Regions from separate parts of the Homo sapiens genome. Here all the other regions are linked to region 1. The links are contacts of gene promoters, found by promoter capture Hi-C in blood cells and fetal thymus (Javierre and others, 2016). All regions are on one chromosome and are shown on one strand. Each heading gives the region's core, a stretch centred on a gene start or on the middle of the fragment in contact. The rest is flanking DNA. Distances are from core to core; before and after follow the strand shown. Region 1 holds the start of EPHB6 (EPH receptor B6). Region 2 has its middle 73 kb from the start of MIR11400. Region 3 has its middle 23 kb from the start of MIR11400. Region 4 overlaps LOC124901764 (a long non-coding RNA gene). Region 5 has its middle 43 kb from the start of MIR11400. Region 6 holds the start of TAS2R39 (taste 2 receptor member 39). Region 7 holds the start of PIP (prolactin induced protein).

Region 1 (4,014 bases), core at 440-2,939:
CCCCCAGTCTGGCTGTGAGTTGCTCTTGGCCCCAGGAGGTACTTCTGCAGAAACACCTGGGCTGGGAGAGGGAGCCAAGTGGGGGGCGGGGAGGAGTGGGTAAAGAAAGGGAAACCTGAGGCTTCCCAAACCCTCCAGAACCTGCCATCCTCCTTCTACCTAGAGTGGGAACTCAGGGTCTAGGGCCCAGGCTCAGGACAGAGTGATAGCAGAACAGCCGTCCCAGAAGGAGGATCCTGCCTTTCCCATGCTCAGCCCACCCCAGCCTGTTGCTCCCCAGCATTCTGGTAACTCAGTGTCATTGCCAACCATCTTTTTGCACCCTGAATGGAGTAATAGACTCCAAACAAGTCCTCCTTCTGAGGCCACCAGGTAAGTACATAGACACCCCCACGCTAATCTTCCTTTGAGAAAAAAGGCCCACTGCTCTGAAAAGCCAAGTGGCCCCACTGAGCAGCACTCAGAAGCCTCAATGCTCCAATGCCCCTTACTTGGGCAGCTTCTGTGGTCTACTAACAGCCCCACACAGCTCCCTCCCACTGGTCTCTCAGCTCAGGACCAGCATCTCCCCTCCTAGAGCCTCAGTCAAGTTCCCCTGGCGGGCGGAGGGCCTGGGTTAACTGGGAACAGACCCAGCAGCTCCGCTCCATGGGCGCTGCCAGGGACATTACAACATTGCTATGCTGGGTCCATGCCAGCTCCCCCAGGGATGGGAGGAGAGAGGGTGCCAGACGGCCAAGATCGGTGGGTGGGGGTGTGGGGCAAGCAGGGCCAAGCACCCAGATGGAGGGAGCAGAGCGAGGGTGGAGCTGGGGCAGGAGCACGCAATAGAATTTGGTTGCACGTTGGGGGTGATGGCTGGGCAGCAGGAACCAAGCGTTCCTTCCACCTCCAAGGCTTAACTGTGGTCATGGAGCTGGGGGGGACAGTGCCTTGTGGGGAGCAGGGGACAGGTGTGTGGTCAGCCTCCTGACTCCTCCCAGCTCCAAGGGGATTGGAGTGATGCCACTGGAGTCAGAGGGGTGGCAATCCTGTTCCAAGCGTGGAGCTCCGTCTCTGCGAGGACCCTCCCAGATTAGGACTCCCAAGCCAGAGCCAGAGGAGAATGTCTGGGAACGCAACTGGGGGATCCTAACAGCAAGGGTAATGCGGTGTCAATGATGCCAGGTCAGAGTGGAGTGAGAGGGGAGTAGCCAGGTTGACCGTTTCCTCACCCTTCATGAACCCCACTCTGGCCTTGAGGAAGGATCCTCAGTACTCCCTCAGGAAGCCACCTAGGGGCTGAGGAGCCCCACTACTCTTGCAAACCTTAATTCCTCTGTCCCCAAGCATACTGTCCCCGACCCCCACAACGCCGCCTGCTAACCCCGCGGGCTCACCTTCCCGTTGGCCGCAGTCTCTGCAGGTCTGCGCCCCCCGAGGCCTCGCAGTGGACCCGGGGCTCCTGGAGCTCGCACGGTGCCACCCGCGTCTTCTCCAGTCCGGGGACCCCGTTGCACCCGGCCCGGGTCCGTTCGGCGCCGAGAGTCCCTGGGATTCCGGGGTGGACCTGACGCTGGCGGCAGGGGCTGCTCCAGAGGTGGGGCGCCGGGAGATCCTGGGGGCCCGCGTCGAGATCGCCGTCGCCAAGCTGGGTCCCGGGTCCCGCCGCCCGCTGCTGTAGAGCCGCGGCTGGAGCGAACGCAGCCCGGCCCGCCCCCTCCGCGTCCCCTCCCAAGCCGGCCCGGCCCGCCCCTTCAGCCCCTTTGGCCGCCTTCCCACTCCCTTCTTCCGGGGAGCCGAGCCCGCCCTCCCGGCCTAGGCGGTGAGTGCGCGGCGCCCGCTCCTCCGCCCCGGCGCGCGGGGGAGACGCGGGGCGCGCCCGGGGCCCCGCCTGTGCGCCGGGAAGGGGGCGGCCTCCTCCCGCGGGTCTTGGCCGGGAGGATCGCACGCGTGGGGCGCCTGCAGGAAGTGGGAAGGGAAGAGGCTGTCTGTAAAGCCCCTGCCTGGGCTCGGGCTCGGGCTCGGCTTGGGTCGGACACCCGCGGAGCGAAGCGCAACTGGCGGACCGTGGCAGTTCAGGGCAGGGCAGAGCCCTGCACACACCCCCTCGCGCCTCCCTCCTCTTCGGCTTTAACTCTAGGAACTAAAACAGTGGGGCTCCTACTCAGCTTGGAACTAAGGTGGGCGTGAGCTGAGCAAGAGAGAAGGAAGGAAAAGCAGGGGGTGGAGGGAAAGACAAACTGAGAAATCTGGGAGAGTACGGGCGGTGGTAGGGGGAGCCGAGGCAGCGGGAGAGGGGGGCGTCTCGGTATGAAAGCGTCGCCGTGCTAGCCGGGAACTCTTTTCTCTTTTCGTGTCTGGATCTTGGTCAACGTTGGGGCTTCTGAGTCGAACCTCCCTCCATCTACCCTCCCCAAGGGGCAGGGCAGTCGGGTTGAAAAGGGGAAGCGCTGCTGTACGCCTGGCTCTGACATGGCTTGGGCAAGTCGCTGCACCTCTGGGTGCCTCCTCCCTCGCCCGCGCTCCGGAGAGAACCTCCCTGCAGTGAGGAGGGGCGGTGCAAGGTGCTCTCAGCTGGCGCCTGGAGGCAGGGTTGAGGAACCGAGGGGGCGCCGCGAGGAAAAGTGTTTCCGCCCACCTCTAACCCCTTCTCTAGCCGAGGACGGGGATTTGGGGTCTATTGTTTGGGTCCTACAGAGCTGGGCTGGGGCCTTGCCACGAAGTGTTGCTACCACCTGCTGGTTTTTCTAGGGAGCACAAGCACCCGGTGCGATTCCCTTTGCCCCCTTTTCTCCCTGTATCGCCCTGTCCCATCTTGCTCTCCTGTTTATTAAAGCAAATGGGCTGATCAAAACTGGTACTTAAAGAGCATTCAGAAGCCGAAGAAAATTGTGAAAGAGATCTATGAGCCAACAAACACAATAAACAAAACAATGAAACTCAGTAAGAGTCACCTGGGAGAGACAAACAGGCTTTAATGAATTGACTGAATGAGTGATAGAAAGATAAAGGCTACCGAGCAAGTTCCCACTTGGCCAGGGGTTTGTTCACTCTTAATATCAGGAGTCAATAAATAAGTCTGATAGTATTTAATGACTGCATTTGGACGTCATTAATAATTCCACTTGTACTGACGGTTCTACTTTATCTTGTTTCTTCCCTTTGCCCTGAAACTCAGTGGTGGAGGGCTTCCTTCATTTTCTGGTTATCTCCAAGGCTTTCAAAGACTTCTGCAAAGAAACAGAATTTGCATTGTGTGTGGAATTACGTAACTCATACATTAACATGCCTGATTGCTAGACATCTATGGTTATATTGAAAACTTAAAAAAAAGACACATAACTAGATTATGTTAAAATAAAAATATGGACAAAACCAAACCGTAGTTGTTACTTTATAAAACCCAGAAATTCCTGTAGTAATTTGCAACGTATCCTGTATTGACATAACAGTAAAAATATCTGCCTTCTTTTCTATTTCATGATATACCTCATATTAGGTGACTATAATATGAAATGAAGTTTTTGCTGCTCAAGGCTTGTGTAATTAGTTATATTTGTCTTGTTAATAAAATTTGAGAGGCATCTAGTTTTCAAAGGAAGTGTCATACTCAGGATGCAAAGAGGTTTAAATTTGTGATTAGTCGGCTTTGCATCCTAATTGCCTATGTCTTATCAAACCAAGTTTTAATGGTAGGTGGAGAGCATAGAATGCATTGTTAAAGTATGCTGCAACCTGCAGCTATTAAAAAGCAAAGTAATGAATTCCTTTTTAAAGTTTAATGTAAATTTTTTGCTATAATTTGTTTGGTGCCTGGGACACTCCAGGTGCTTAGAAGTGTTATAGAATGAATCAATAAAAAATAATATTTAAACTTTTTCTATGTGGATGGGCACAGTGGCTTATGCCTGTAATCCCAGCACTTTGGGAGGCTGAGGTGAGAGGATCACTTGAGGTCAGGAGTTTGAGATCAGCCTGGCCAACATGGTGAAACCTCATCTCTACCAAACAATACAAAAATTAGCCAGGCAT
Region 2 (4,014 bases), core at 1,025-3,524, 450 kb after region 1:
TCAACAGCGACTCTAAAAACACAATCAAATAAAATAAATATTACCTTCAAAGAAGGTATGCAAATTGCCCATAGGCACAAGAAAAGACACTTAACATCTTTAGTCATTAGGGAAATGCAAATCAAAACCGCAATGAGATATCATTCACACTTACTAGGATGGCTATAAAAACAGTAATCATCATCATCATATTTTTGAAAAGAAAAAAGAAAAAGAAAAGGAAATAACAAGTTCTGGAAATGTTGTGAAGAAACTGGACACTGCTGGTGGAAATCCAAAATCGTGCAGCTGCAACAAAGAAATATTTTGGTAGTTACTCAAAACGAGAAACAGAATTACCAAAGGACCCAGAAGTTCCACTCCTAGGTATAGACCCAAAAGAATTGAAAACAAGGAATCAAACAGATATTTCCAGGCCAATCTTGACTGCACCATTGTTCTCAATATCTACAAGGTGGAAACCACCCAAATGTCAATTGACTAATGAATGAATAAACAAATGTGTTATATACACACAATGGAATATTATTGAGAATGAAAAAGAATGAAGTTCTAATAAATGCTACAATGTGGATACACCTGGAAAGCGTTATGCTAAGTGAAAGAAGCCAGAAACAAAAGGAAAAATAGTGCCTGGTTTCATGTAAATTCATTATCTAAAATAGGCAAATTCGTTCATATACAAAATAGATTAGAGTTTGCCAGAGGAGGGAGAATGTGAAGTTATTTCTTAATGGGTACAGGGTTTCTGTTTGGGGTGATGAAAATAATTTTGGAAATGGATAATGCTGATAATTCCACAACAAGGTGAATGTACTTAATGTCATTGAATTGTACATTTAAAAAATAAAGTGATGAAATTATATGTTACGTGCATTTTATCATACTTTTTAAAAGATGGAAAGACTACCTTCAAAATAGGAAAAACACTGACAGTTGCATTCTCCATTATTGAACTTAAAGACAATGAAAGGAACCCAAGTGATTTAAATACATTGATAAATTTTCCAGAAATGTGGTTTGTCACAATATATCCCACAGTGGGTTTTCTGATGTAGTTGTAATTATCTTTTGTAATAAATATACAAACAATTTTCACCAGCCCATATGTCTACTCAAATGTAGGACTGTCATTCCTTGGAAAAGTATCCAATCTAGTAATTTTGAAATCATAACTTACTGTTTCAGGTTGCAATATTCTGATTGTAAGTAAGGTTGCGAAGTTATTCTCATGTTTAGTGGTAACTTATGTTCACTCTTGTGTGAATTGCCTACTCAGCCTCAGTATTGCTATTTTTATTGAGCTGTCTTCTTAATACTAAGTAATAAGAATATTTTACTCATTCTAGATACTAATTCTCTTAGACAAGAACAGCTGTGCTACAGAAAACAAAACAAACAAAACAAATCCTAAAATCTCACTGGCATAGCTCTATGAAGTCTTACTTCCCATGACCACAAAGCCCAGTGTGGCATGAGCAGCTTTCTTCTGTGATTGTCCACCAAATTCTGACTCAGTGAGCCAGGCTGCTTCCATATTATCATTAGGCAATCTGTACCGTGTAGCTCCCGAGTTCAGGACATGGCAAAAGAGAGTTGAAGAGTGTCTGTGCACAAGAGTTGACAGGAGGCTGGAGACTGCGGTGCTTAGAAAGTCCTGCTTGCAAGATTGGACTCTGGCAGACATCTGGGAGCTTGGCTGGTGAACGGTGCCCTGAACTGATGCAAAGTTTCTCCTGACTGACAGGGGTGGCTCATCGTTCCTAGGCTGGTGTTGCAAATAATATTATGCTGAACATCAGATTTTCTTTTGGGATCTAGACTTTTGGTTCATGCTAAAAAGTAGGTGCCTGTGTGACCAGCTTCTACTAAAACCTCTTGGGTGCTAAGTCTGTAATGGGCTCCCTTGGCAGATACACTGCACGTGTGTTAATGCATTTTTGCTGCTGGGAGGAGAGAGAGCTCTGTGTGACCCCTCCTGAGAGGAAGAGAGCATAAGGAAGCCTGCCTGTGAATTCCTCCAGATTCTGCCTGTGTGTTTTCTCCACATGTTCTGCTGCAGAGTATTTACTATGACACTTTAATAAATCTTAGCCATGAGTACAACTCTATGCCATATACCAACACTCTAAACATGGGAGTACATTTAGAGACCCTCAACATGGTGCCACAGAATATTTTTAAGGGCCAGGCTTGAAATGAGCTGACATCATTTTATCCCACTATTCAGAACCTGGTGACATGTTCCCACCCCTCCAACTGCAAGGGAGACCAGAAACCATGGAGGAGCTACAGGTATTCAGTGATGTTCTGAATGTTCTCTGTTACACTGAATGTTCTCTGTCACACTGATTTTTCATCATTTGTATGCATTCCTCATGCCTTTCCCAGGCTGTAGCTTAACTTTATTTTTTATGGTGTGTTTTGGCTTGAAACAATTTAATGCAACTAGCGTTATGAATGTTGTTCTTTTGGCTTGTGGCTTTTTGTCTCCTCTAAAAATGTCATCCCTCAACTGAATGCATAAAATGCTTTTCTTAAATTTTTCTAGTAAACTTTCTTTTTTGCTTTTTACAATTAAGAGCAAGTGTGCCTGAAATACACTTTAATTTAAGAAATGAAGTAGAGATGTAGGACTAAGTGGGTGGTATGTATGCTCAGTGCAGAAGAAAGAATTTATATAAACAATCCCCAGGGTGGAAAACAACAGACACATATGAAGAAATAACTGCATGTAAGGGAGTGTGGCTGGAGCAGAGAGCCAGGGAAAACATGGTGCAAAATGATGATGAAGAGGTACGTAAATGGCTAATGATATAGGACCTCGTGGGTCTATTGCCCTTAGAATAAAGGGCCCCCAGGAGCAGAGACCACATGGGCAAAGATTTATGATTGGGAGTTGAAAGGCAGTAGAGGGTAGGGGAAAGGGTATGTGGAAAAGTCACCCAGCCCTTAGGGTAGAGAAGAATATGGTGGGTTTCAAATTTTCAACGAAATTAGGAATCTCGACTAAAGATGCCTTTTCCATTTTACAAAAGGAAAGAGGGAACTGCAGAAGCTAAGGGTGTTGGGGTGACCTCCAGTTGGTCTGAGACTGGGGTAGGAATGGACCTCAACATCAAGGTTTATATGGCCCCTGCTCTATGGCCCCCAGGCTAGCCAGGGCTCTCCGACTCCTGTGAAGGCTGGGACTTGGGAGCACAGGCAACCTCAGTCATTCTAACTGCCCTTTATGTGCAGAGAGGAGGCAGCTGTGCAGCACTGTGGACTCACTGCTGGCGCAGAAATATACAGATGTCTGGGAGGAGGCAGCAGACTCCAGAGTGAGGGGGAGGTCCTCTGTGTTTGATCTAGAGACACTGTAGCCATCTGAGACTTCTCCTTTGTTAGTGTCGTGAACACCATATGAGTAATGGATCAGCCTCAGCCCATGTCCCAGGTCTTGTCGATACCAGAACATATTGTTGTGGTTCCAAGTCTGGTGACACGCCAAGGTCACCTGCCTTCCTGTCTCTGTGATCTTGTGTCTTGGGCTCTGGGTGATTTCAGCATCCCTGTGTCCTGTAATAGAGAACAACAGATGCTGATGCTGTCATCCCAACAGAAAAGCCTGCACTGAGGCCTTGGGAATTCCAGGGAAGGAGGCCCTCCTGTGACCAGCCCTCACCTGCCCACAGCAGACAAAGGGCCACATAGAAGAAGAGCCTCGTGCCCATTTCAGCTCCAGGGCAGGATCTTGTGTCTCCCAGCCCTGCTGTGGGCAGACTGAAGTTGGGCTCTCAGTGACTTGATGATGTCACTGTTCCTGCTGAATGCTTGAACTGCGGAGCTAACCTGCCATGCCCCTTCTCTTCCCCGCAGGAACAAATTATTTATAACAGAGTTGAATAATTTTTAGGTCTGTTTTGAAAGAAATCTAATAAACTCCTAAGCTCTTTCCCTGATTTTAATAGGGGAATTTGTTCTTCTATGTATATTTTATTTCCATCATGAGAAATTCTTTATTTGAATACT
Region 3 (4,014 bases), core at 427-2,926, 360 kb after region 1:
TTCTAGAACAGGACACAATTTTGCCAAGGTTTTTGCTACTTACAACAAGGATGGCATTTACTTCGATTTTCAATACCTTGTTCCTCATTTCCCCCTGAGCCTTCACCAGAATTGCCCTTTATGCTCTGTTTTCAGGAATCTAGACTTTTGCTAGTCTGCTCCTCCCAATTCTTTCAGCCTCTATCCATTAGCCACTTCCCATTAACCAAAGCTGCTTCTACATTTTCAGGTATTATAGCAACAGCCTCACTCTCAGGTACCATATTTTCTTTCAATTTCTTTCCTACTGCTATAGAGAAATACCATGGAATGGGCAATTTATAAAGACAATAGTTTTATTTGGCTTATAGATCTGGAGACTGAGAAGTCCAAGATAGAAGGGCAATAACTGCTGAGGGCCTCCTGCTGTTATCCAAGGCAGAAGGAAGGGGAAGCAAGCACCGAAGTCAGAGAAAATGACTGAATTCATCCTTTTTATCAGAAGACCATTCCCAAGATAATTAATTCACTCCCACAATAAAGGGCATTGATCTGTTTCTGAGGGCAGATCCCTCATGACCCTAGTCATAGCTGTCCCACCTCCCAATACCATTACCTTGACAAGTTTCAACATGAGATTTTGTGAGGACATGCAAGCATAGCACACACATCTACACTATGAGTCAGTATTTCCACTCTTAAGTCTATTTCTTTAAAAAAAATGCATATGTCCACAGGAAGAATTCCACAAAAATGTTCACAACAAGTTTATTCATAATAGTTGAAGACAGGAGTAACATGGATATCCATCAACAGGAGCATGGATAAACAAGTTGTAGTATATTTATGCAATGGAATATTAGTCATAAGAATGACCTACTGATACAACGATATGAATATACTTCAGAAATACTAATTTTGGAGAAAAACAATTCAATAAAAATATGATTCCATTATATGAAGCTCAAGAATAGACAAAGCTACTCAACAGTGATACACATAGAAAAGTTTTTATCCCTGGGATAGAAATTGATTAGAAAGGAGCATGATGACACTTTCTTGAGTGACGGAAATTTTTTTTATAATCATTTCAGTTACTATTGCACTGGCGTATGCATTTGTCAAAATGTACCAGGATGTCCTTCTATTAATATTTGTGTTTTACTCTCTATTAATTATACCTTAATAAAAAGTATTACTAAAAATTAAACAGCTAAATTGCATAAAAGATGGGAGTCATTTACAAATGTATGCTTGTATTCTGCACAGCCCAATTTAAAAATGAATCACACAAAAAGAAGAAAAGACAGGAACACACATAGCTGTGTAAGATTTGGAGAATGTGAGAAGTGCTCAGTGACTGAAATAGACAACATTGAAATTTGGCCACAAAATAAGCTCAAGTGATGAGTGGGCTGAAAAACAAGTGAGGATCAATATCAAGGAAAGCTGTAGACAAACAAAAGCTCTCTAAAAATATCTTCATATGCTGTTGAAATCATTCTGAGAACCATGAGCTGCTATCCGTTTCATAACTTGGGAAATTGGGCATTCATCAGTCTCACAATTGAGACTTTCATTTCTTTTTGGCTTTCAACAGATTGGCCAATTGGTGAAGTGATTTTTTTGCCCAGCAAGCAGCCTGCTCCCCTCTTTGTGAGTGGGGTCCTGGGACACCCGGCCCTCCGCCTTTGGCAGCCTCACAGAGGGGAGTTGGGCACAGCGCAGACACACGGGGTTCCCTGCATGTGGGGTTTGCAATCCCTGTAAAGCCCAGCTGTGGATCTCCAGTCCTGCAGTTAATGGATCCCAACTAAAAAACCTTGCGTCTAGGTGTCTGCTCTACCTGTAAGTGCTAAAGAGGGATAGAGGCTGGAGAAAAATAAAATGTTTGCTCAATATTATTCTGTAACATTTTACAAGAAAATAAATTGAGGAGTCCATGCATTTTCATCCAAGCCAAGGTCATGAGGATAATAGCTGAATTTCTTCCTTAATCTACCCTGAGAAGACTCAAACACTGTTCTATGCCCACAAATACTTTAGTAGTGACTTATTTATAGTCTATTTTTGATAATTCTTCTAGTCAATTATATTCAGCTCTAACAGCACAGTTTGATGTGTCTACTAACATTTTCCTTCAGTAGTCTGTTTACTTAGGTGTTTTAGAACTTCTCAATATTTTTTGCCCTCCAGAGAACACATACTTGGTGTCCAATGGAATCTCAGCCAAGGTGATGTTATCAGTAAGACTTATGAACTTGCAGAATCCCAGATCACTCAAGCAGGTTAAAGCTGTTGCCTGGTCAGACAATTTCCAATGTTCCTCTGAGGCATTTGCTCCTCTGCACCCGCCCCTGATACGAAGGCAAAAATTCTTCAACTGTAGATGTCACTAAAGATTACAGGGACTTCCCGCCTCTTGCATAGCTGTAGGTAGCCTAGCAATAACTGAAAACTGCTGCAACATCTGCATAATATGGGATCCAAGCCCTAATTTTTCTTAACCCTTTCCCTCCTAGACTGCTCGCCCAGACTCCCCAGAGCCCAGTGGACCATAGTGCCATCTTGTGGCCAATAAGTGAAGTTTCATCATTATTTCTTCCGCTGGGAAGTGTCTGCTGAGTGAGCCGGCAGAATATTCCACAAGTGCCGTCCCGCAGGTGTTATGAGCAGCTTCCCTAAATCATCATACCAACACTAGTTCTAACCCTGACTATTGCTTTCAGTTACCAAAATCTTAATATCCCACCGTCATTCTGAAAAACTCTTAACAAATATCTCCAGTTATAGTTTAACTTTTTCTCCCTTAAACTACCATCTAAAGAAAGAGGAATAGAAGGAGAGGAATGAAAGAAAATAATATTTGGTTTTAAATAGTAAGAAAACACAGACGTTGAGGTATAAAGAGATTATTTAATGTGAATCACTAAAGATAAACAAACACATCCTCCTAAAATGACAATGTTACCCCAAAAGTATAGATCAGCAAAAGATGAAGTCAAATGTCTATTAATAAAAAGTAAAATTGAAATATATAAAATGAAACCTCTTACAAGGCAATAAGCAATGGTGGAGGGAGCAGTACCTAATGTAGAAACTAAGGATGGATATAGCTAAGACTAGCAAAGGGGCTGCTACAGGAAATGATCAGCTTGTACAATGCACATCCACTGATCTGAGCACCAAACACGGAAGAGATGATTCTGAAACAGGCAGAGGAGCAGCGGGAGATGAGGACATGCTGGTACAAAATAGCATCATAAGGAAGCAAATCAGCCAGGGGACTGTGGATTAGATAACTGTGCTTTCTCCTGTCTCCTGTGACAGCTGAACTGGACCATTTTCCTCTCCAAGGATTTGTTCCCGCACCCTGAGTTAGAGGACCCTGGGATTTGCTCCTCCTCAGCTTCCCATGGATGAAAATCCCTCTCCCTCCTTGTTGAGCATGGTCTGAAAGAGAGGTCATCTCTCCCTCCCCTTCAATCTCACAGTATTGGGGATTGGCACAGACTTCTCAATTGGCATCGGCCTCTCTCAGGGCATGCTCACATGCCCCCTAACTGTGACTTTTCATTTCCACTAGACTGAAAGTTAGATGTGGGCAATGAAACTTAACACCTTTATCATAGGATGCATAAGTAACTGCTTTCAAAATTATTGTTGTTTCTTTCACTGCCTTGGGTTATATCTGAACAGGAAAAAAAGGCACAATTTCTTAATGTGACTTAACCACAAAAACCTTCCCAAGTGCCAAGAACAATATAACTGTAAAGGGATTGCTGTCCTAATTGGTGAGATGGCCAAATAAAACAAAAACAAAGAAAATGTTATCAAATACTTTAATGGAGACCCAGAATCCCAGTCCCTCTTATACAAACATCATTGCATGGCCTCCCTCTAACTAAGAGACAGGCAGAGCCATTCCTGTGCCCTGCACCTGGCAGGAAAGCCCTGCTGGAGCCTGTTGGGAGCTGGTGAGGATGAGCCTTGGTGATTCTGTCCCAGAGCAGGGATTCTCAGGGAACTCTGGAC
Region 4 (4,014 bases), core at 991-3,490, 350 kb before region 1:
AGCTTTCAATCTGTGCCTGGGCTCTGGTTTGAATGAGCCACTGATATATTTGCAGCCACCGGGGATCTGGAGTGCAGATGCAAATGGCAGTGTTCCCTGGTAAGTGTTGGTGACAATTGGATCTTTCTCTGATTTGCATTCCCAAGGCCTGCAGGTTTTCAGAAAATCACATCTTATAGGCAGTTCTGGGGAGGGGGGAGGTTTATTTTCAATGTCAGCTACAAATGCCGGCCCATGATAATTCTTAGAATGAAAGACCTCTCATTTGCAAAGGAGAGGATAGTTAGAGCCAGAACAATTCACTTAGCAAAAATTTGGGCCCAAAAATATATATATAGGAGAAGGGATTGTTGGTGGGTAGAGAGGCCTGGAGATCAAGAGCAAGAGATGAGATAAACACAAGTTTGGAAGCCATTGGCTTGTGAGGGGACCTGAGCACTTAGAATAGAGGAGACCCCTCAGGGAGAGCTTGTATGGAGAGAGAGAAAGGTGCATCCTGACCCCATCCTGGGCATTTCTCTTTGAAACTCAGCCTTGTTATAATTCATTTCTAATTCTGATATCAGCAGTGAGGGTTCATCTAATCTATTCTCATCACTTCTTGAGCCTCTCAGCTCTCACTGGTCCTGGCTCTTGCCTGGAGATGATTTTACTCAAAATTCTAGTCCAGGATTTAGAATTGGTCTAAGTACAGATGTGCATCAGGAGGCTATTTCAAAATCCCAGATGAGCTCATACATAAAGTAAGGATTAATTTTTTATTTTGTGAACCAATTGTGTAAAAAAAAAAAAAAACAACAATGCACATTAGGAAAGTAATTCATTTAATTTCCATGACCCAGCCCCTCCTGCCTACAAGCCCCCCTCCCCCATCCCATGCAATCCACCTCATAGGTAAAAACATATTCTGGGCAAACTGACTCATTTCATGTCACATTTATCCCACTCAAGTTTGTCCCTCCTGCTTTGAGCCTGGATTCCACGTAAAGGTGGAAGGTGATTTGGGCTGGTCTCCAGGCAGTCACCACCTGCAACCTATTTTCTTCTCATCACGACACCTACGTTCAGTGTCACCTTTTCTTCTCCCTTGGGCTGCCCCTTTCTTGCTCACTCCCATGTTCCAATGCCAGCAGCTCTGTCTTTGTGCTCAGCCATGCTTGTTGTTCAGCAGCATTCCTCATTAGAATCCCATTATTTGATGGTCAGAGTAGGGTCTCCATGGTGATACAGGCACAAGTGTAGCCAGTATTCTGCCACCGCATCTTACCTACTTGGCAGGCAAGCTAGAGTTGGCCTAAATTCTGCTTTTATCATTTATGTGTTTGTTCTTATGCTTTTAGGAAAAAAAAATCCTGAAATAATGGTGAAGGACAGCAAGTATTTGCCTAGAGTGCATGCTAAGAAGTCTCCATAGATGTTTTTCTTTAAGTATCCTGACCGCTTAACATATTGATGAAGACCTCTTATTTCCAGGTCAACAATCAGCTGTTACCAACTTAAGCTTTCTAAACATTTTCTGTGAAACAAATTTTTGCCAGTAAGAAAAGGAAATTGGGAGCTGCCACTGCTTAATTAATTTGAAGCTTTGATAAGCTTTGCCAGAGAGTCGCATAATAGAATTAGCAAGTTTCTTAACAGGTGAGAAAGCACATGAGCATAAACAAAAATAGGATAAGACTATCATCAATGGGGTTTATGCACCAGCTTAAAAAGCCAGTTTGGGGGACTTTTATGACTCTGAATTAAGATTTGTGCAATATAAGATTGTCCAGGATAAAATATTTTGGGCACCAAATATTAAGCTTCTGAAATAGACCCAGAGGTTCTTGTATGATAAAAAAAAAGTATGTATAAGGTTTTGATTTGATTTTTTAAATAATGTGTTCACTACTTCCCTTTCTTCTGAGACTCCATAGAGAAAAAAATATCATAACACTAAAGAGAAGGGAATGAGGATGGCCAAGAGCAGACTGGAGATTTCATCCTATTTCTTGGTTGTGGACAATCAGAAAAAGCATATTGTAGATGAAGTGGAGTAAAGGATGCTCAGAATATGCATGTCATGGGCCTCTGGGAATGTGGTGGCTGATCAGGCTGCTAGAAGCCTGGAGGGCCTTGGCTATCGGATTCCTAGCTTTGGATAGCAGGAGCGAGACATTGTGCAAAAACCAGAGGCATCATTAAAATTCTGTCTGCCATATAGCTGCATCATTGATGCTTTCCAGTGCCTTCCTTGCCACTGCATACAGAACCATCGAAAACCTTCATATTGAGAATTCTTTTCTAGAAAAATTGAATACATTTCCAAGGAAGAACTAGGGCTTCAAGTGCAGATATTTGCACATAGATTAAACCCTTTTTTTATTATGGCATTTTGAATTTCCAGGCTAATGTCAGATTCCACACCCACATACCTAAAAGAGGAGCCAGCCTGTCAAGGTGGCCCAGTTACAAAAGAGAGCTTCCAATCAGCCTTTCCATTCAGGAGACCGTTCTACTGGAGAATGATACCTGCTTACCCAAAACAGCCTTTCCTTTTCCTTCATGAATTACTAATCAAGGATGATCAGAAATAGGAACAAAATCCACAGCCTGAAAGAGAAAGACCAAGCTAAACACCAAGAGTGAATTACCCCTGAAGAAATAAAGATCAAAGAAGACAAAAAATTTAAGCTTGTGTCCTTAGAGGAGGCACAGAAGATATTGCCTCCATAAAATAAGAGAAGGATGCTATTAAAAATAAACAATTAAGAAATGAGAAGGTGAAAATGTAAATTAGTAAGTCATTATGGAAAACAGTATGGAAATTCCTCAACAGTTAAAAATAGAACTAGCCATATGATCCAGCAACCCCACTACTGAGTATATGTCCAAAGGAAATCACTGAGAGGTATCTGAACTCTCAATGTTTATTGCAGCACTGTTTACAAGAGTCAAGATATGGGATCAACCTATGTGTTCACCAATGGGTGAATAGAGAAAGAAAATGTGTTTTATATATACACAGTGGAATACTATTTAGACATAAAAAATAACTGGAATACGGCCTGCACAGTGGCTCACACCTGTAATCCCAGCACTTTGGGCGGCCAAGGCGGGCAGATTGCCTGAGGTCAGGAGTTCGAGACCAGCCTGGCCAACATGGTGAAACCCTGTCTCTACTAAAAATACAAAAATTAGCCCGGCGTAGTGGTGCATGCCTGTGATCCCAGCTACTTGGGAGGCTGAGGTAGGAGAATTGCTTGAACCCAGGAGGTAGAGGTTACAGTGAGCCGAGATTGTGCCACTGCACTCCAGCCTGGGCAACAGTGTGAGACTCTATCTCAAAAAAAAAAAAAATTGTAGTACTATCATTTGTGGCAACATGGGTAAACCTAGAGAACATTATTTTAAGTGAAATAATCCAGGCACAAAAAGACAAATACTGCATGATCTTACCAATATGTGGAATCTTAAAAAGTTGATCTCATAGAAGTAGAGAGTAGGATAGTGGTTATCAGAGGCTGGGGAAGATAGTGAGATTAGGGGGCAAATGGGGAGAGATTTGTCAATGACTACAAAGTTACAGTTAGATAGGAGGAATTAGTTCTGGTGTTCTATTGCACAGTAGGGTGACTATGTTAGTTAACAATGTTGTGTATTTCAAAATAGTTAGAAAGGTGGGGCACAGTGGCTCAAGCCTGTAATCCCAGCACTTTGGGAGGCCAAGGAGGGTGGATCACCTGAGGTCAGTTCAAGACCAGTCTGACCAACGTGGTGAAACCCCATCTCTACTAAAAAAATACAAAAGTTAGCCAGGCGTGGTGATGCATGCCTGTAATCCCAGCTACCTGGGAGGCTGAGGCAAGAGAATTACTTGAACCCGGGAGGCAGAGGTTGCAGTGAGCCAAGATTTCACCATTGCACTACAGCCTGTGCAATAGACAAACCAACAAACAGACAAACAAACAAAACAAACATCAAAATAGGAAAATTTTGAATGTTCTCACTGTAAAGAAATGATAATTATATGAG
Region 5 (4,014 bases), core at 1,121-3,620, 340 kb after region 1:
TAAAGTCCTAGAACAGGACACAATGTTGCCAAGGTTTTTGCTACTTATGAGAAGGATGGCATTTACTTCAATTTCTGATACCTTGTTCCTCATTTCCCCCTGAGCTTTCACCAGAAATGCCCTTAATGCTCTGTTTTCAGCAATCTAGGCTTTTGCTAGTCTGCTTCTCTGAATTCTTCCAACCTCTATCCATTAGCCATTTCCCATTAACTAAAGCTGTTTCTACATTTTCAGGTACTTGTTACAGCAACAGCGTCACTCTCAGCACCATGTTTTCTTTCCATTTATTTCCTACTGCTATAGAGAAATACCACAGACTGGGTAATTTATAAAGACAAGGCATTTATTTGGCTTATAGATCTGGAGACTGGGAAGTCCAAGATCAATGGGCCATAGCGGCTGAGGGCCTCCTGCTGTTATCCAAGGCAGAAGGAAGGGGAAGCAAGCACCCAAGACAGAGAAAGTGGCTGAATTTATACTTTTTATCAGAAGACCATTCCCAAGACAACTAATTCACTCCCACAATAACGGCATTGATCTCTTTCTGAGGGCAGATCCCTCATGACCTAGTCATAGCTGTCCCACCTCCCAATACCATTACAATGACAAATTTCAACATGAGCTTTTGTGAGGACACGCAAGCATAGCACACACATCTACACTGTAAGTCAGTATTTCCACTCTTAAGTTTATACCTAAAATAAAATAAAAAAAAAGAATGTATATGTCCACAAGAAAGAGTTCCACAAGAATGTTCACAACAACTGTATTCATAATAGTTGAAGACAGGAGTAATGTGGATATCCATCAACGGGAGCATGGATAAACAAGTTGTGGTATAGTTATGCAATGGAATATTAGTCATAAGAAAAAATGACCTACTGATACAACAATATGAATAAACTTCAGAAATACTAATTTTGGAGGAAAATAACTCAATAAAATGTTATATGATTCCATTTATATGGAGTTCAAGAATAGACCAAGCTAGTCAGTGGTGATAAAAATAAGAAAAGTTTTGGCCAGGCGCGGTGGCTCATGCCTGTAATCCCAAAAATTTGGGAGGCTGAGGCGGGCAGATTTCAAGGTCAGGAGATCGAGACCATCCTGACTAACACGATGAAACCCCGTCTCTGCTAAAAATACAAACAATTAGCCGGGTGTGGTGGCAAGCATCTATAGTCCCATCTACTCCAAAGGCTGAGGCAGGAGAGTGGCGTGAACCGGGGAGGCAGAGCTTGCAGTGAGCTGAGATCACACCACTGCACTCCAGCCTGGGTGACAGAGTGAGACTCTTGTCTCTAAATAAATAAATAAATACAATTTTTATCTCTGGGATAGAAATTGATTGGAAAGGAGCATGACGACACTTTCCTGCATGACAGAATTTTTTTTATAATCATTTCAGTTACTATTGCACTGGCATATGCATTTGTCAAAATGTACCAGGATGTCCTTGTATTAATATTTCTGTTTTACTCTCTATTATACTTTAATAAAAAGTATTACTAAAAAGTAAACAGCTAAATCATAAAATATGGGATTCACTTACAAATGTATGCTTGTATTCTGCACAGCCCAATTTAAAAATGAATCACACAAAAATAAGAAAAGACAGGAACACACATATCTGTGTAAGTTATGGAGAATGTGAGAAGTGCTTGGTGACTGAAGTGGCAACATTGAAATTTGGCATCAAAATAAGCTCAACTGATGAGTGGGCCGAAAAACAACTAGGATCAAAATCAAGGAAAGCTGTAGACAAACAAAAGCTTTTTACAATATCTTCATATGCTATTGAAATCATTCTGAGAACCATGAGCTGCTACAAATTTCATAACTTGGGAAATTGGGCATTCATCAGTCTCACAATTCAGACTTTCCTTTCATTTTGGCTTTGAACAGATTGGCCAATTTTTGAATTGATTTTTTTGCCCAGCAAGCAGCCTGCTCCCCACTTTGTGAGTGGGGTACTGGGAGACCCGGCACTCCCCCTTTTCAGCCTCACAGACGGGAGTTGGGCACAGCACAGACACACGGAGTTCCCTGCACGTGGGGTTTGAACTCCCTGTGAAGCCCAGCTATGGACCTCCCAGTCCTACAGTTAATGGATCCCAACTAAAGAAACCGTGCCTCTAGGTGTCTGCTTTACCTGTTAGTGCTAAAGAGGGATACAGGCTGGAGAAAAATAAAATGTTTGCTCAATATTATTCTGTAATATTTTACAAGAAAATCAATTGAGGACTTCATGGATTTTCATCCAAGCCAAAGTCATGATAATAGCTGAATTCCTTCCTTAATCTACCCTGAGAGGACTCAGACACTGCTTGATGCCCACAAATACTTAGTAGAGACTTATTTATAGTCTCCTTTGTAAAATTCTACTAGTCTATTATCTTCATCTCTAACGGCACAGTTTGGTGCATCTACTAATATTTTCCTTCAATAGTTTGTTTACTGAGGTGTTTCAGAAATTTTTGTCAATACTTTTTGTCCTCCAGAGAACATGTGCTTGATTTCCAATGGAACCTCAGCCAAGTTGATGTTATCAGTAAGACTTATGAACTTGGAGAATCCCAGATCACTCAAGCAGGTTAAAGCTGTTGCCTGGCCAGACCTGCAGGGAAGATGAGGTGCAGCAGAGACCCACTGGGCTCAGGGCACAGCCTGCCTCTCACTTTTCCCTTTTCCTCTGAGGCAGTTGCTCCTCTGTCTGCACATGCCCCGACACCAAGGCTGCCTGGCCAAAATTCTTCAACTGTAGATCTGATTAAAGATTAGAGGGACTTCCTGCCTCTTGCATAGCTGTAGGTAGCCTAGCAATAACTGAAAACTCCTGCAACATCTGCATAATATTGAATACAAACCCTAATTTTTCTTAACCTTTTCCCTCCTAGGCTGCTCCCCCAGACTGCCCAGAGCCCTTTACATCGCAGTGGACCACACTGCCATCTTGTGGCCAATAAGTGAAGCTTCATCATTGTTTAATTCTGTAATGGCCCAAGGAATGCTGGGAAGTGTCTGCAGAGTGAGCTGCCAGAATATTCCAGAGGTGCCATCCCGCAGGTTTTATGAGCAGCTTCCCTAAACCCTAAGTCCTACATTAGTTCTAACCCTAATTATTGCTTTGAGTTACCAATCTTGATATCCCACCCTCATTCTGAATAACTCTTATCACATAGCTTCAGTTATAGCCAAACTTTTTCTCCCTTAAAACTACCATCTAAAGAAAGAGGAACAGAATGAGAGGAATGAAAGGAAATAATATTTGGTTTTAAATAGTAAGAAGACACAGACGTTGAAGTATAAAGAGATTATTTAATCTGAATCACTAAAGATAAACAAAAACATCCTCCAAAAATGACAATGTTACCCCAAAAGTATAGATCAGCAAAAGATGAAGTCAAATGTCTATTAATAAAAAGTAAAATTGAAATATATAAAACGAGACCTGTTACAAGACAATAAGCAATGGTGGAGGGAGCAGTACCTAATGCAGAAAATAAGGATGGATATAACTAAGAGTAGCAAAGGGACTGCTATAGGAAATGATCACCTTGTACAATGCACATCCACTGATCTGAGCAGCAAACAGGGAAGAGATGACACTGGAAGAGGCAGAGGAGCAGCGGGAGATGAGGACACGCTGATGCAAAATAGTATCATAAGGAAGCAAATCAGCCAGGGGACTGTGGATTAGATGACTTTGCTTTCTCCTGTCTCCCGTGACAGCTGAACTGGACCATTTTCCTCTCCAAGGATTTGCTCCTGCACCTGAAGTTAGATGCCCCTGGGATTTGCTGCTTTTCAGGTTCCCATGGATGAACTCCCTCTCCTTCCTTGTTGACCATGGTCTGAAGGAGAGGTCATCTCTCCCTCCCCTTCAATCCCACAGTACTGGGGATTGGCACAGACTTCTCAATTGGCATTGACCTCTCTCATGGCATGCTCACATGCCCCCTAACTGTGCCTTTTCATTTCCACTAGACTGAAAGTTAGATGTGGGCAATGAAA
Region 6 (4,014 bases), core at 953-3,452, 330 kb before region 1:
AAGCCTGTGATGTTTAATTTGTGATTTGTTTGCATTTTTAATAAAACCCAATAGTGAGAGAGCCAATCAACAAAATAATGTGCACTATCCTTTCTCTCAAATCTTTTTTACTTACCAATTCTCTTTCTAATAAAAATCAATATAAATCTTTTAAAATTTTAAAATTAGTGAATACATGTTCTAAGTAATTCAAACAATGCATAAAGGCATAAAATAAACGGTAAATATTTCATTTATTCCCCAGATACCCAGTGACACCACTCAGAAGCCCTCTGTGAATTATTTTTGGTATATTTGTCCAGAAACTTTGCATGTACATATATATACATACAAATATATAAGTATTATGAAAAAAAGAAATACAGATGGAATCATAAAATATCTCCTTGCTTTTTGCACTGTGTATTGGAAATCTTTTCATCTCAGGAAGCATGCATCTATCTCATTTAAAAAAGGTTAACATAATATTCATTTCAGACATTCAATTCCCGTCATTCATGAACAGTGCAGCTGTGAAGAGCCTCTTGCACATATTTTTGCTTATTTATACAAAACCATGCTTAGAAAAAATTCTTAGTAATTTTTAGGATGAAAGGTGTTTTATGCATTATTAATTTTGATAAATAGTTCCACATTATTTTGGTTATATCTTTGAAAGATGGAGACAAAATGCATTTCAAACTTCTGCTCAGAAAACTTCCCAAGTTATCTAAATGTGTTTAAAAGGCATGTGGAGGGAGAAAGAGAGTTGTCAGGAACTAGTTTCAGAACATTCTTCTATTTTGGTGGCTATACAACCCTGCTGCACAGCAGAATCACCTGGAGATCTTAGAAAATTGTGTGAGTTCTAACACTAGAAATTCTGACTTAATAGATCTGAGATTGGGTTTGAACATTGGTATTTTCAAAAATCAACCTAGAGATTCTAATGGGTAGCCAGTGCTTAGAATCACTGCTTTAAACAGAGCAAGGGGAGGTAGAGGGCTCAGGTAAAGAATATGACAGTACCACTAAGATTGTACCCATGAAGCAAAAAAGAAATGATCAATTTCCTATATAAAAAGCCACATCAGGCGAAAAGGGTCAGATGAGGGTTGGAGAAGAAAAGAAGAGAGAAAAGAGAGGTCTAGGTGAGGGAATGGCAGAGCTGGTAAGGCCAGGTCCTGTGGTCTTCTTGGGTGCTGGTCACAGAGTCCACTCTTTTGGGTAAAGATGAAGTCGAAGCTGAAGCCGCTTCCAGGCTCTTCTCAGCCCAGGGTTATCTTGAATCAGTAGAATTGAGTGGCTGGCAGGGTAGGCAGCCATGATGATCTGGCACAAATTATTCCACAGACTGTTGATGTCAAACATGTTGGACAGGTAGATAAACAGAGCAACTGCATTGAAAATGTAGAGAATGAGAAAGTAGCTGATAGCTTTGATGGCCCCCATGTGAGCCTCCATGCTGGGGTCGTTGGACCCTGTGGCATTGCTTCCCATGTGTAGGGTGTGTCTCTTGAGAGAGAGGATCAGCAGGGTGGCTGTCAGGATGAACATGATCAGAGGAGTCACAATCCCCAGGTTAAAGAAAAAAGCCAGACCGACCACATTGATCTCAGACAAGTATGTTTTCTTAGTGGAGTTGGAGGAGTGGATAGGGAAAGAATTGTTACAATACACAGTGCAGATGTTGATGCAGAACATGCTGTGACTGAAGGAAATAAACACGGACAGCCACAGAAGCCAGGGTATCAATCCAGTAATTCTCCACCTCAGTTTGAGGAAAAGGGGGTAGGAGAAATTGGCAATCTTCACAAAGTAGAAGAAACTGAGCCAGGCAGCAAACCACAGGCTACAAAAATTTAAGAATATAAAACTTATTTTGAATGCATAATATACAGCGTCTTCAGAATAAAAACTTAGGGAGGTTGAGCTGATGGTAATTTCTAACATCATGAGGCTTTGGAGAGCTATTCTGGATACACTCAGGAAAACCAGGATCCTGCCACTTGTGGAAACTGCCTTATTTTGAACCCATTCAGCTGCATGTATAGCCATGATGAAACCATTTGCAATGATACCAATGAGGTATTCAGCAAGTAAAACTGCTAAAATTAAGGTGATGAGAAATGGCGACAATTCACTTTCTGCAGGATCGCAGAGTTTAGTCATTCTGAGCTGTTGCTTCTCTTTGGTGTCTGGAGGAAAACATCTCCCTAGCATTTGATGGGCAGACTCTTGATAACTCCCAGTATTGATGTCATAGGAGGAAGCAATTGATGTATCATTTCCAAATTCACTGCATTTGTTTATTTCAGAATTCTTAGCTCTACATCTAGAGATGCAAATGTTGGAAGGATTTGGTTTCTAATCCTCTCTCTATTTTTGAACATGTTGGTAGTGGTTCAATAATGAGGCCCAGGGAAGCGCTTGAGTAGACTCTTTAAAAGCAGCTAACATGGTACTGAGGTCCGTGTTCTTTGGTAGCATCAGTTAATTTGAACATTGGTTAACTGAGTCATCATTTAACTTACTTTCACTTGTGACTGCAGAAAATGATTGAAAATAAAAACTGCTACACACATACACACACACACACGCACTTCTCATTTTGTGCTAAGAAATTTTCAAATGATTTATTTATAATTACTACATTTAAACCTCACAACAACCTTATGAGCATGTGCTTCTATTACCTCCATTTTGCAGATGAAGAAACTAAGGCATACAGAGGTTAAATAACTTGGCCAACATCACACAACTAGAGCGTGATAGAACTGGGATTCAAACCCAAGTCACCTGGTCGCAGAGTTCCTCCTCTTATCCACCATGTTATGCTACCTAGACCTGTGGATTCTTTTGTGTGCCCAAGACTAAATGCAGGGTTGATTCCACTATGACATTTTTTTCCTGGTAGCCTTTTATGTCCCCACCCTCTAAAGAAAAATCAATAAAGCAAGAAGACACTGATTTTTAAGAGATAGGACTCTCTTTTCAAAGTAGATTACTTGAGAGGTAATAAATTTAATTATACATAAAAGATCATACACACACACACACACACACACATATTCACCTTTCATTTTAAGCAAAACTAGGAAAATAAGAGTTGAAGGTAAAACTCCCTAGTTCCTAGCAAGGTAAGCTAGCGAACCTGAGAATAAAAGCAATGTCCCAATTCATCCAATTTTGGAATATTAAAACAAAAAGAAAGGAAAAAAGAATCACTTTTATCTTAAGGAATTTTTTTCTGATTTTAAAACGCAAGCATAGGACACATAATGATAAAATGGACTTTTCATTTCAGGGTAAATTAATTTTTATGAATGTATGTAACTTTAAAATAATGATGAAGTAATAATTCTAATAAAGAGAAAGTTGGTGGGTGAGAAGTCTCAGAAAATCTTTATAACATTTGGTTTTTACTTAAAGCCTTTTAAAAACAAGGCAAGAACTCATAAACGTTTTCTGGCTTGATTAATGATTTTAGATGAGTTGTTACGAATTTTACCATCTCATTTGAAAATCACTATTCCTGAACAAATATTTCCCTTGAATACAGCGTAATAGACAACTGCTCCTCTCTGCTTGTTTCTACCCATTTGCACAAGTAGGCCTGGAGTATCTCAGGACCTCCAGTTTGGTTTTAAAGAGGATTTTTCTTGCCACTGGCTTTCCCCTACTTCTGCTGATCCAGGCTTCCAAGAGTGGGAGGAGAAACAGGACATGGTCCCTTCAGAGGCTGTTGCGTCTTTCCTCATTTGATTTGTTTATCCATGTATCCCACTCTGAGCCCCTAGCCCATGCCAGACACCCAGGAGGCAGTACATAGATACTTGCTGGGTTGATATATGGCCTTAGTGAAGACCTTCAGCTCAGAGAAGCTCTTTATGAGAGACATGAGGAGGAATGGCAGTTCCACGTCTCCTCAAATTTGAAAATCTGCAGGTCCTATGCCTAAATCAAGTGTCAGAGCATAAACAGTGAGGTTCAGTGAGAACACAGCAGACTGTAGAGAACATCTGTGTAAGAAAC
Region 7 (4,014 bases), core at 695-3,194, 280 kb before region 1:
AAGCATAAGAATGATACAATGGACTTTGGGGACTTGCGGGGAAGAGTGGGAGAGGGGTGAGGGCTAAAAGACTACAAATATGGTGCAGTGTATACTGCTCGGGTGATGGGTGCACCAAAATCTCATCACCACTAAAGAACTTACTCATGTAACCAAATACCACTTGTACCCCAGTAACTTATGGAAAAATAAAATAAAATAATAAAAAATTTTAAAAACCCAGCAAACATCTCAATGCACTGGAGGTATTTGTAGGAGCATCTTTGAAGATCCTCCTTCTGTGGTCCCCAGGTAGGGTTTAGGAATTTGTATTTATTTAGCTCCTTAGGAAATTTGGACATATGGCCATGTTTGGGAACTTTAGATACTACTCTACATTTAGACCATACACTGCAATCTGAAAAGGAAAGGAAATGGAGACAAATAAAATGGTCAAATGTTCTTCTTCAGTCAATGAGGACTGGGTTCGGGGCCAGGAGAGTTATTTTCTCGTCCCTAGAAACTCCCGGCTACGGACCTTTGTTATTGTGTGGGACAGAAGGGAATTGAGATTCTTAGCCCACAGTGTCTCACAGCCCCATTTTCTTGGGGCAAAGCATCTTAGAGAGATTCTATTTTTTGGTGCCAACTGCTGTAGTGCCCAGTGCACAGGAAAAGGGTATAAATACCTAAGCAACTTCAAAATCTCTCCCATTTGTATATGAGTTTCAGATTGATAGGATGACCAGCTTAGTTCGAGTGACTAACCATCTCAGTTTACCCAGGACTGAGGTCTTTTCCAGAATGGGTTGTGGAGGTGGCGGGGGAGGGCAGAGTTGCAGTGCTACAACCAGGAAAGTTCTGGGCAAATCAGGATGGATGGTTGATAACCTAATTAGCATAGCTTATTTGAATACCTTGCTGCCCTTCAGGGCTAAGTGGACTGTCATCTGGCGGGAATGGGGTGGGATCTGAACCTGTCCCCATGCAGGGTTTCTTGGGACACTTGCCTCCATTACATTAGCTTGTCAAAACCCTGAACAGTTTCCTCCAGGACAGGATATCTGACCATGCCATAGAGAGTACCTCCAAGATCACAACCCAGAAACCCAGCATTATAAACCCTACTGCTATAGAGAAAACTCCCTAGATTGGGTATCGCTGCTTTCTCCCAGACCCTTGGCTCCATTTTCTACTTTATTTTACTTGCTCCAATTTTTCTGCTTCCTTCACACATGTGTTCTCAATAAGTTGACTTCTGAACCTGTGCTCTCAGGTCCCAGTATACGTGAGAGCAAGAGGTCATCATATTCATCTTCAGACTTCAGGTTAGGAAGAATGTCTAAGCTGCCAGTCTAGCTCAATCTCAGACCACAGGGCAGTGGCCAGGGCCTCTGGTCCTTTAGCCAGTCCTGCCAAAGCTGCCCTAAGCTGCCATTGGAATTCACAGACCTGTTATGCTTCTCTTCTAGGAGGCAAGGTGTGAGAAGGTAAAGTTTACTGAGCAGAAATCTGAACAAAGGTATAAATTATGAACAAGATGTGGATCAGCATGTTAGATGAAGACTAACTACTAATTACAGCCTGTAGGTACATTTGGAGCTTTATTTCCACTGGCAATGCAGAAACACCCAGCAAAAATGTGAGAGGAGTTGGTGGGGCTTCCTAAGAGGACAAGAAGTGGAACCTGGCAGGAGATCCATGGGAGCTCCTGGGACTAGAGTTCTGGGAAGTTGAAAGAAATTCTCAGAAAGAGATATGTAATTTCCAGACTGGGAGAGGAGCCCTCCCTGCAATTTTTTTTGTGGGGAGGAGAAGGGCATGGCTCACGTGTTGTCCTGAGCTTTGTTGGCCCCCAACTGCAGGCAGAGAACCAGGAGCAGGGTGGCAGGGCTGGCCCTGAACAGGAGCTGGAGCAAGCGCATGCTGGAGAAAACAGAAGGCAATGTGTCCCAGAGAAGTGGTGTCCCAGGTGCCCAGCACATTTCTTATATACAGATTGATCAAGGAAGTGCAAGAGCTGCCAGGGAGATCCATGAGGTGAATCACCCATTCACCCTCCCCACTCGTGATCTTTCCTTGTTGACCCAAAGTTTGTTTTTCTAAGAAAAAATCAACACTCAGCTAGAATGTCAGCGTTTGAGAGAGGAGTCAGATTGTTCTTCCTTATTTTTTCAGCATCAGAGTTTCTCAAAATGGCTGGGACCTCAAAAGATACACCAGTTTTTCCCGAGTTTACAGATTCAGTTTTCTTTTCCCTCCTAATTTGCCTGTCTGAAGTGCTATGTGTAGTCTTAGCTTCAGTCACTGCTCCCCTGGTCTCTGAAAGCAGAGAACACAGCTGTGGTGGCAGGTTTCAGACCAGAGACATAGAACATCTTTGCTTGATCAAATTATAGTGAGTTCAAGATGCAATGCTATTCAAAACATTTCTTGGAGGGCTAGGATGATCAGGACTTCCCTAGCAGTCACTACCCATCATGAGGTGGAAGAGCTAGAGAAGACCTGAGCTGCTCTACATGATGGGGAAGTGAGTTCAAGACACTGGGTGATGTAAAGATGTTTATTGTCATTGAGTCCTTCTTAATTTCAGGTGTGGTTGCAATATACTGCAGATGTCCAAGATCCCCAGCTGCCCCACAATCCCCAAGGCAGGGTGATATTTTAATTCTAGACAATTCCTATAAATAGCTGGCACCCCCAAATCAGACTTCTTGGCACCAAAGAGCTGGCTTATTTTCTTATTGACATGGCCACTTTCTTACACTTGTCTCATGCGTAAGCCACACAGGAAGAACCACAGTGGAAAGGATTCCTTCTGTGAGAATGGAGCCCACATTATGTCCAGTAGATACCCAGGTTGTAGAATTCCTCTCCTTGGGATGATGGGGAGACTTGCTCTTGCTGACACTGGCATTGTGTTATTTCTCCTTATGAAATTAAATCTGCTCCTTAACCTATGACTTACAATACTATGGGATTTGTTTCTATCATTTGCATGGCACACAGCTGCCCAGGAAGAGCCTCTCTGGCAACAGAGTGAAAATCAGAGTTCTAGGAGTTACCGCCTCTGTATGTTGCTTTAGCCAGGATTCAGAGCTAAAGTGTAAGTGTGTGCTTCTGCTTTCTGGATGTATCTCTCAAAATTGCTCTGTCTGTTTATTCAGCTCCTGGATCTACCTTCTCTTTTCTTTGAATTGGACACCATTCATGTCATTGCTCACTCAGAACTTCAGCTGTTCTCATGATCACATGCTTTCTTCCCTGTTTATGTCCTATCCACTCAAGAACACTGCTTGTGAGGGTCACAATGACCTTCCTTTGTAAGCCTTTTCCCACAATTAAATTGTCTTTACACCTGGTCCTTCTCACTTGCATAATTTCCATTTGAAGCACATCCTAGCTACACTGACCAAGGCAGGCATAAGGCAGAAGAATCTAGGAAGTGTCTGTGTGGGAAAATGCAGGAAAAGTTCTTTGCTTGGCTCTTTGAAGGCATAGCCCTGTCCTTGAGGATGCAACTCCAGCACTCCCAAAAGGCAGTGTCCAGAGGAAGGCAGATGACGATGGGTTAAGAGCATCTATTGAAGGTAATGAGGCTGTTCTTCTGTGAGCTAGCAGGAAACTGCAATACCTACAATGTACAGGACAATCTTTTTTTTTTGAGACAGAATCTCACTCATCCAGGCTGGAGTGCAGTGGCATGATCTCAGCTCACTGCAGCCTCCACCTCCCGGGTTCAGGAAATTCTCATGCCTCAGCCACCCGAGTAGTGGGGATTATAGGCAGGTGCCACCATACCCGGCTAATTTTTGTATTTTTGGTAGAGATGGGGTTTCACCATGTTGGCCAAGCTGATCTTACATTCCTGACCTCAAGTGATCCACCTGCCTCGGCCTCCCAAATTGCTGGGATTACAGGTGTGAGCCACTGTGCCTGGCCTAGGACAAGTCTTATTCAGGCCATGACTGCTGTGATGGTTACTTTTATTTGTTAGCTTAGCTAGGCATGGTGCCCACTTTTTGGAAAAACAAC

What was found. Contacts are between HindIII fragments. The CHiCAGO score rates a contact against its expected background, and 5 or more counts as called.
Region 2: a contact is called between a fragment that was not itself captured here and the fragment with the promoter of EPHB6 in region 1, in 1 of 17 cell types (naive CD4 T cells). The highest score is 5.3, in naive CD4 T cells.
Region 3: a fragment that was not itself captured here is called in contact with the fragment with the promoter of EPHB6 in region 1 in 1 of 17 cell types (non-activated CD4 T cells); the score reaches 5.3 in non-activated CD4 T cells.
Region 4: a fragment that was not itself captured here is called in contact with the fragment with the promoter of EPHB6 in region 1 in 9 of 17 cell types (M0 macrophages, neutrophils, naive B cells and 6 more); the score reaches 10.7 in M0 macrophages.
Region 5: a fragment that was not itself captured here is called in contact with the fragment with the promoter of EPHB6 in region 1 in 8 of 17 cell types (fetal thymus, endothelial precursors, M2 macrophages and 5 more); the score reaches 10.0 in fetal thymus.
Region 6: a contact is called between the fragment with the promoter of TAS2R39 here and the fragment with the promoter of EPHB6 in region 1, in 5 of 17 cell types (total B cells, neutrophils, M2 macrophages and 2 more). The highest score is 7.2, in total B cells.
Region 7: a contact is called between the fragment with the promoter of PIP here and the fragment with the promoter of EPHB6 in region 1, in 6 of 17 cell types (M0 macrophages, M1 macrophages, total B cells and 3 more). The highest score is 8.8, in M0 macrophages.

What each region holds. Positions count from the first base shown.
Region 1 is chr7:142,852,751-142,856,764 of GRCh38, reverse strand. It overlaps EPHB6 (EPH receptor B6), which reads right to left and starts at 1,689. Exons shown (of 20, transcript NM_004445.6): 1 at 1,380-1,689. The HindIII fragment of the contact is 5,828 bases long and covers 1-4,014 here.
Region 2 is chr7:142,399,630-142,403,643 of GRCh38, reverse strand. It overlaps TRB and TRBV10-1. Among named protein-coding and RNA genes, the nearest start is that of MIR11400, 73 kb to the left of the region's middle. The HindIII fragment of the contact is 5,689 bases long and covers 1-4,014 here.
Region 3 is chr7:142,495,226-142,499,239 of GRCh38, reverse strand. It overlaps TRB. Among named protein-coding and RNA genes, the nearest start is that of MIR11400, 23 kb to the right of the region's middle. The HindIII fragment of the contact is 6,150 bases long and covers 1-4,014 here.
Region 4 is chr7:143,200,800-143,204,813 of GRCh38, reverse strand. LOC124901764 (a long non-coding RNA gene) reads left to right here. Exons shown (of 2, transcript XR_007060567.1): 1 at 1-1,638; 2 at 2,387-2,758. Among named protein-coding and RNA genes, the nearest start is that of TAS2R40, 19 kb to the left of the region's middle. The HindIII fragment of the contact is 871 bases long and covers 1,805-2,675 here.
Region 5 is chr7:142,515,098-142,519,111 of GRCh38, reverse strand. It overlaps TRB. Among named protein-coding and RNA genes, the nearest start is that of MIR11400, 43 kb to the right of the region's middle. The HindIII fragment of the contact is 1,200 bases long and covers 1,771-2,970 here.
Region 6 is chr7:143,181,607-143,185,620 of GRCh38, reverse strand. TAS2R39 (taste 2 receptor member 39) reads right to left here and starts at 2,202. Exons shown (of 1, transcript NM_176881.2): 1 at 1,186-2,202. The coding sequence starts at 2,202. The coding sequence ends at 1,186. The HindIII fragment of the contact is 8,536 bases long and covers 1-4,014 here.
Region 7 is chr7:143,130,007-143,134,020 of GRCh38, reverse strand. It overlaps PIP (prolactin induced protein), which reads right to left and starts at 1,944. Exons shown (of 4, transcript NM_002652.3): 1 at 1,810-1,944. The coding sequence starts at 1,904. The HindIII fragment of the contact is 4,172 bases long and covers 1-4,014 here.